2 separate regions of the Homo sapiens genome follow, and region 2 is linked to region 1. Evidence: promoter capture Hi-C in 16 types of primary human blood cells and fetal thymus (Javierre and others, 2016). All regions are on one chromosome and are shown on one strand. Each heading gives the region's core, a stretch centred on a gene start or on the middle of the fragment in contact. The rest is flanking DNA. Distances are from core to core; before and after follow the strand shown. Region 1 holds the start of GALNT3 (polypeptide N-acetylgalactosaminyltransferase 3). Region 2 overlaps COBLL1 (cordon-bleu WH2 repeat protein like 1).

Region 1 (3,855 bases), core at 355-2,854:
AGAACAAAACAATGGAATTGTTATTATTATCAGAAACTTCTACGTAAAAATGTTGGTTAAAGCAATATATAAAGATTGATTCTCGGTACAAATTGCTTGGAAAGTTTAACATGTGCACTAGATTTCAGATATTAAAAGTTAAATTAAAAAAAAGAATCTAATGGCAGCGTGTGACTTTAACCTCATGGATTTTAGCCACAAACGCAAAGAAAAATATATACAATAAAAGAAGCAACAGATTTTCCCACAAGCAGAGATTTTCTAATTAAAATGCTGTCACTTTAATATTTTTTAGCTATAGAATTTGACTGTAAATGTCTTCATTATGTAGTGTAACTTCTATAGCAAGTTATGTTAACGTTTTCAAGAATCGGAAATATTGGTAACTCGATGGGGTTCTTAAAACAGAAATAGTTTCTTTGATGAGTTGGAAAGAGAAGGAAATAAAAGTCTAAGGTAAGCGCCAGTTTCACCCTCAATTCTTAGGCTTCAGAAAAGCCTAATTAGGCAGGGAAAGGAATCTGGGCCTGGCACACCCAAGCTTAGACGTGGCAGGATCCTGAAACAATGTTTTTTTGAACCTTTGAGTCATATGCCACAGGCAAACCATAGCCGCGATATGCAGGTCCTTAAGTCAACAGGTCCTCTAACGAGATGGTGAGTGGTTGGTGCGTGGCAGTTGGATTTCTTCCCGCCACGGAAGAAAAGAACTCTTCTCCATTGATCAGGAAAGTGGGCCCAACTCTGGCCTGGAGAGCGCACCCGGAAAAGTGCAGAGTCGAAACAGAGAGAGAGGGGTGTCCGCGTCCCGGCCACAGAGCCCTTTCCAAACCACTCGGAAACCATTTAAATGGCTCGGCGGCCGCGGTTTGCAGCCTAGAACTGTTTGGGGTCCCCGGCTAGGAAAGTTGCCTGGCAAAGCCATGTCTTTCGCTGTCGCGGGATGTCCTCTCGGGCAGAGAGGCTGGAGGAGACAGGCAACCTGCTAGCCGGAGTGGAAGCGCGCCCGCCTCCCGCCGGGCCCTCCCTCTCAGGGTCCCCACGCTGCGACCCTCCCAAGGGCAAGTCCGGGGCCACCAGGTCTTTGGTCTCCGTCCAGCTCCTCAGGGGCCGCCCCATAGGGACTGGCGGGGGCACCGTGGGCGAGAGGGTGTGACCGGGCTCCCCCCCGAGGCGCCACCTGCCCCTTGGCCCAGGGCGCCCCTTTCGGGATCTCTCCAGGGGCAACCGACACACTGCTCTCGAGACCGTCTCCAACCGGCCACCTGGACCGTAGCCCTGTCCCCAACACGTGAACCCCTGCGGCCGTCCTCCCGCCTGCTCTAACGCAGCCCAGGGGTACCGCGTCTCCCTCCGCCTGCCGCCGGCTTACCTGGCGGGTGGGCAGGGCAGGGTGGCGGGAAGCGGCGGCCGGGCAGGCGCTGGACGTGGGCTAGGCGCCAGGTGCAGGTGGCGGCGGCTGCGACTCCGGTTGCTGTCGCCACAGTTGCGGCTCAGTAGAGCTCCTCCTCCGCCGCCGCCTCCTGCCTTCCCGCTGGGCCTCCCGCGTTGCCTGGAGAGGCAGAACCGAGGCTCGGCTTCCACTTGGAGTCTCCCAGGTGAGCTCCAGCCTGCGACGTCGGCAGGGGCGAGGCCCCACTTCCGCGCCTGCGCGCCAGCCTCCCGCCCCGCCCCAGCCCTACCTGAGCGCTCCAGGTGAGAACCTTGGATCGCGCGCGCAGGGTGGGGGCGCCGTCCGGGCCAAGCCTGGCTGTCGCGCGGCTTCTCTCTGAGTGGTCGGCGAGGCTGCTGCTCCGCGCAAGTTGTGGCTCCCGGCCCATCTACATTGGAGGAATCCTGCACTGACCTGGTGGCAGTGATCACCTTGTAGCCAGAACACAGTCTGCTGGGTCCTTGGGGAACCAGAAGTTCTAGATTTCCCCCACACGGTTCCTCCCTTCCTCCTCGGTTCGCCAAAATGAAGGGGTGCGCTGCCTCCGAGGACCACTTCGGGAGGGCAGCAACTGCTGGCTCATGTGGTTTCTTCGGGCAGGGTTCAGCAGCTTCTGTCACCAGTTAGGTTTCGTGAGCTTCCTTCCCGTGTAGTCTTGATTTCATCACTTGACTCACTTCAGCGCAGCTAGTGGTTTCCGTTTCTGTACGCGGGCGCTCTGGTAGGGGCGCCTCACGTCCAAAGGAGGAGTCTTCTTCCAAAGAAGAGCCTTTGGTATTTGGCAGAGCCTCGCCAATTTGGGGCGCACCTCCCCTTCCTGGGATGCTCTCAGAAGGCAAACCAATTCCCAGAAGAGAGGGAAAAACAGCCACAACAGAGAGAACCTTTGCTGTCCCTGTTTGGAAAGAGATTGGGATTTCCTGGAGAGGGCTTGCTTCTACTGCAGGTTTGTTTAAAAGCTCAACATCTATTCTGGAAGAGAACAACGCAGACTCCAGGAAGATGGTGGGTTTTGCTGTTTTTAAGACAAAAAAAAATTGTTAAACAGTATTTGTTCCATTTATGACACAACTTTCTGTTTCAGCCTTCCTTCTGCTGCTGCAACAAACATTGACACACCCAAAACCAGGACTTAAAATGGCCTTTATACCTTTCTATGAACTCATTTCTTTGGCCCTATCCCAAAGATATCTAGGGATATAAATAGAAAACTAGCTAAAAACTTTTTGGTGTCGTGTTTAATCACATGGTGGTAGGTTTTACTATGAAGTTTAGTTGTGGCCTTCCTCCTACATTTTGACATGCTCTTATGGTGCTTATTCACTGTTTTATTAGTGCTATGCGTGACCTAAAAATAAGGTTTAAAATACAGTTTAGTATAGTATCAACAAGTGTATCTTTAGTATTTGACTACTCTAAGACATTGGTTTTAGCATCCATAGTGCTATTTTATACTAGGACATCTATGAGTTAGGGTTTAAGACTTTAGTAAACTAGGTAGTTCTTTGCTTGTTTTACATGTCATGGTTATTTTGCGAGCACCAAGGAACCTCCATGTATTTGCAACATTTTAATATCAGTACCTACAAGCAATTGCCAAGCTCCCTTTCCCTCCAAAAACAAACAAACAAAAAAATAGTTCAGGAGATACTTGTGTGTATTGATATACTAACTTGGCAGTGTTTTTCCTTAGGTCCAGGTCCAGAACTGAAAATACTAACTACTGAAATTCTCTTCTCCTTCTCCTTCTTCTTCGTTGTGCCACTTTGTCGTTTACCCCTAACCAGAGGTTAATGTTAGTCTTTGGAAAATTTGTAAGGTATCCTAAATGTATAACCAAGAAACCTGTACCCTTTTGCACGCACCACCCATCTCTGAATGAAGAGCCAAAGATTGTCAGAGTTTTGATGTCCCACCAGGCGAAGAGCAACACTTTTCACTGACAATCAGGACAGAGCAGATGGATATAGAATAACAATCTGGAATCCAAGGACTGAGATGCATTGACAGCAAGACTAGTAACGTCAAATAACAACTGAAAAGAGAAGCTAGGGTAGACCTATTAAAAGAGAGAGCCAGCAAACAGGACCAAAATGCTGGATGAGGAGTCTAAAAAGAACAGAAGAAACAAAAAAGATCAGGAGTTACTAAAATTTGACTGTCAGTTTTACAATGGAGACAGACAATTTAAAGAAGGAAGCAGTTTTTCTGAGTGTGGCATTACTTGTGCACGTTGAGTGTCATATATATAGAGAGAGAGAAAGAGAGAGAGTGAGAGAGAGTGAGAGAGAGAGAGAGAGAGATATCTTGGGGATGAGACCTGTCTAAACACAAAATTCATTTATGTTTCATATACACCTTATACACATAGCCTTAAGGTAATTTTATAAAACATTGTAAATAATTTTATGCATGAAACAAAG
Region 2 (3,855 bases), core at 519-3,018, 1.0 Mb before region 1:
CTAAAACATATCCTGAACTTCTATACTTTTCACCAGCTCCCTGCTACCACCCTGGTAATCAAGGCATCATCTTTTCTTGCCCAAACTGCTTCAAAAGCCTTTTCACTGGTCTCTCCTGTTTCTCCTCTTGTCCCTTAAAATCTATTCTCCCCTGTAGTAGTCAGAGTGAACTTTTAAATATGTATGCCATTAGGTCAGTGGGGGAGAAAAACAAGAAAGAAGACATAAATCAGATCACATCTCTCTAATCCTTCACTGGCCTTCCAATGCATTGATGAACCCAAATTCTTTTCCTTGGCTTGCAGGCCCCAAATGAGCTAGCCTGGTGGTTCTCAAAGTATGGTTTCAGAGCAGCAGCCATAGTACTTGGCTGCCGCACCCCTGAGACAGACATAATCAGAAACATTAAGGGCAGGGCCTTACAATCCACATTTGACAACTCTCCAAGTGATTCTGATGTATGCTAAAGTCTGAGAACCAATGAGACAACCTCAGCGCCCCTCTTGTTACTCCCAGTTTCAATGCCCCATGTAATTCACACTGGCATTCTTTCCTGAAATAGACCCAGTCTCTTCACATCCAAGAGCCTTCCATAGCTTTGCCCTCGGTCCAAAATGCTTTTAACCAGAAAACTTCAAATTGCCTGCTCCTTGAGGTCATTCAGAATTCAGATAAAATATTTCCTCCTCTTAGAGGTATTCTCTAACCACTCAAAAAAGGTACCAAGGCACACCCCACCCATCGTGGCCCACTCTTCACATAGCCCTGCTTGGTCCCCATCACATTTATCACTATCTGAAATCATCCTGCTTATTTACTTATTTCCTTGTTTTTTATTTGACCCCAGAATAAAAATTCCTGGAGGGCTGGGACGTGGCCTGTCTCATTCTCTGCTGGCACCTAGAACTATAACTGGCACAAGATGGGGTTCTCTATGAGCATTTTTTTTTATTTAGTTGAGGAAGGAAGGGAGGGAAGGTCATATTAGTTTCATCAGTTCATAGGAGAGCAAAAACTTGGTGGGTTGCTGAGAGTCAACCTGTTCTGTAGCCAGAGGTATAAGAAGTCATTCAAGTCATTCATGAATATCTACTGCTAAGTCCTTTAAAGGTGCTTTTGGTCTACATTTAATCTTATGAGGCCATTGCCACTGCCATTTAGCTGGGGTTTACAGAGGTTTAAGAAATTTGCCCCAAAGCGCATAGAACATGGGACAATTACAAATGAAAACCCACCAAATCCCCCCGCCAATAACCCTAGCAAAGGCCACCCAAATAACTCCCAGTGTTTAAATAAGCCCCAAAGACATGCACATGGATAAAAGATCTCAATCCTCAGGAAGTTTCTAAATGGTTTTCCTATTTGGGGAAGGGATTAAATTGGGACTGACAAAATTTTAGATTGTATGAAGACTCCCTCATTTTGCCCAGACGCTCGGTAATTTGCCTGAAGCCATGTAATCTGTGGGACAGGACTCAAATCTGTAGCTTCCTTTGACCAATGAGAATTATGATTAATATCAGAAAAGAATAATCTAATTTTTCATTTTTAGGAATGGGACTCAACTTTCAGTTATACTTGGTATAATGTACCAAGCAAAGAGGCAGTGGCATATTCACATCAAAGAAGCACATATGGAATGCTAGTGTCATGTCCCAACAGTAAAAGCCAAACAGAACACAAGAAAAAGTAGTTTCTATCCAGTATCAACAGCAGCTAATCCTTGAGTGTTGACTGTGTGTTAGAAAATGTTTTTTACCTGCACTAACTCGTGTCCTTACTACACTATATGAAGCAAGTGCTGCCACCTCCACATTCCAGATGAGGGTGACATGCAGACAGATTAAGGAACTTGCCTAAGGTTCCTTAGCCAGTAAGTGGTGGAGCTGAAATTTAAACCCAAGGTGTCTGATTCTGAAGTTGGTGCTCTTTACTACCACATTACATCATTTCTTTGAGATCTTAAACATTCATCAAAATAAACAAAAACAACAAGTGAATGAGCAAAAGCCAGGTAGTGAAGGAGAAAAAAATATGTGGTTATTGAATATCTTCTAAGTCCTGTACAGGTGCTTTTTGTCTACGTTTAATCTTATGAGGCAGTTACCACTGCCATTTAGTTGGGGTTTACAGAGGTTTAAGAAATTTGCCCAAAAGCACAGAGAGCATGGGACAACTACAAATGAAAACCCACCAAATCCACTCCCCACTACCCAATAACCCTAGCAAGGGCCATAAGCCTCAACATTTAAACAGGAAGGCAGATACCAGATGTACCCATACCCCAGCCCTACCACTGAGACAGCTACTTCCCCAGGTGAGGTTGGAGAAACAATATACTGGACATCAAAAGGCCTGGGAGTATCCTAAATGGCCACTTGTGTTACCGTAAGTAAATCACTTAATTTCTCTGGCCTTCCATTTTCTCATTTACAAAATACAGGTATTGAACAAGATGATCCCATGCCCCTTTACCTCTGACATAAAATATTTATGCACAATTTTGTTTAGAAACTGGAAATGGAGACAAGATAGTTAGGACTAGGGTCAAGGCAGGGCACAGTGGCTGCACTAATTTACAAGTAGCATTTGGTTGAAAGAGTCACATGGACAGGACGCCCATTCCCAGGGAGTTCTTCCTATGCTGAGAACACTTCTGCTCCTGGTCAGGAAAGGGTCTCCTCTGAGGCTCACAGGAAACAGAAGCCTGGAAAATGGGATCCATTTCCAAGTGCTTTTCTCTCTCTTGGCATTCACACTAGGAAAAAATGATAAAGGGAATGGCAAACCCAAAAGAAAATTTTGAAAAGCTCTTGTTTCAGTCTCCCACACTCAATTATTTTACATTTCAACACCTGGAATACCAAGTCCCTACCACAAGCCATTCATCACTTCAGGCTTTCTGCCCCCATAGCACCTCCACTTAAGTCTGACCAATAATCCATAGTCCCATCAATTACATCCCATGTTTCTGCCACCTTAAATCTCTCTCTCCAAGGTGCACAAACAAAAAAAAAAAATGCAGAGATTTCTATTATCTTAAATACGACTTGCCTGCTTCTTCCAAGTACTCTTTCAAGTACCTTGTCATTACCCGCCTTTCTTTTGCAGCAAAACTTCTAGGACTCTGCTGTCCAATATGGCGGCCATGTAGCTACTGAGCACTTGAAGCATAATTAGTGTGACTGAGGGACTACAGTTTTAGTTTATTTAGTTTTAATTTGAATTTTAAAACTGATACTTGATTCAGTTACTGGAAAATGTTTAAGTATATTTGGGATAAGTTGAGTATGGGAATTTTTTTTTTTTTTTTTTTTAAGACAGAGGCTCACTCCGTCACCCAGGCTGGAAGGCAGTGGTACGATCTCAGCTCACTGCAACCTCAGCCTCTTGGGTTCAAGCAATTCTCGTGCCTCAGCCTCCTGAGTAGCTGGAAGTATAGGCATTCATTACCATGCCCAGCTAATTTTTGTAGAGACAGGGTCGCACCACGTTGGCCAGGCTGGTCATGAACTCCTATCCTCAAATGATCCACTTGCCTCGGCCTCCTAAAGTGCTGAAGTTACAGGTGTGAGCCACCGTGCTGGCCCAGAATCTATTTTTTCAAGTATAAATTTCATGACATCTAAATACAGATCGGGTATTTCCAATGAAAATATAACATCTGAGTTGAGAAGTGCTATAAGTGTAAAATACACACTATATTCCATAGACTTAGTAAAAGGTATTAAATATCTATTGGTAATTATTGTATGCTGACTACATGTTAAAATAATATTTTTATATACTCAGTTTAAGGAAATACATTTACCATGGTGGGCCTTCTCTAAGATGATGTCCAATGACTGCTTCCTT

The links. Contacts are between HindIII fragments. The CHiCAGO score rates a contact against its expected background, and 5 or more counts as called.
Region 2: a fragment that was not itself captured here is called in contact with the fragment with the promoter of GALNT3 in region 1 in 1 of 17 cell types (total B cells); the score reaches 6.1 in total B cells.

Annotation. Positions count from the first base shown.
Region 1 is chr2:165,792,643-165,796,497 of GRCh38, forward strand. It overlaps GALNT3 (polypeptide N-acetylgalactosaminyltransferase 3), which reads right to left and starts at 1,605. Exons shown (of 11, transcript NM_004482.4): 1 at 1,373-1,605. It overlaps LOC124906086, which reads left to right and starts at 944. Exons shown (of 6, transcript XM_047446887.1): 1 at 944-1,150; 2 at 1,277-1,695; 3 at 2,158-2,437. The coding sequence starts at 944. RefSeq lists enhancers at 355-1,261, 1,262-2,167 and silencers at 1,238-1,327, 1,398-1,547. The HindIII fragment of the contact is 5,078 bases long and covers 540-3,855 here.
Region 2 is chr2:164,750,443-164,754,297 of GRCh38, forward strand. The region is part of intron 2 of COBLL1 (cordon-bleu WH2 repeat protein like 1); the gene reads right to left. Among named protein-coding and RNA genes, the nearest start is that of SNORA70F, 65 kb to the left of the region's middle. The HindIII fragment of the contact is 6,801 bases long and covers 1-3,855 here.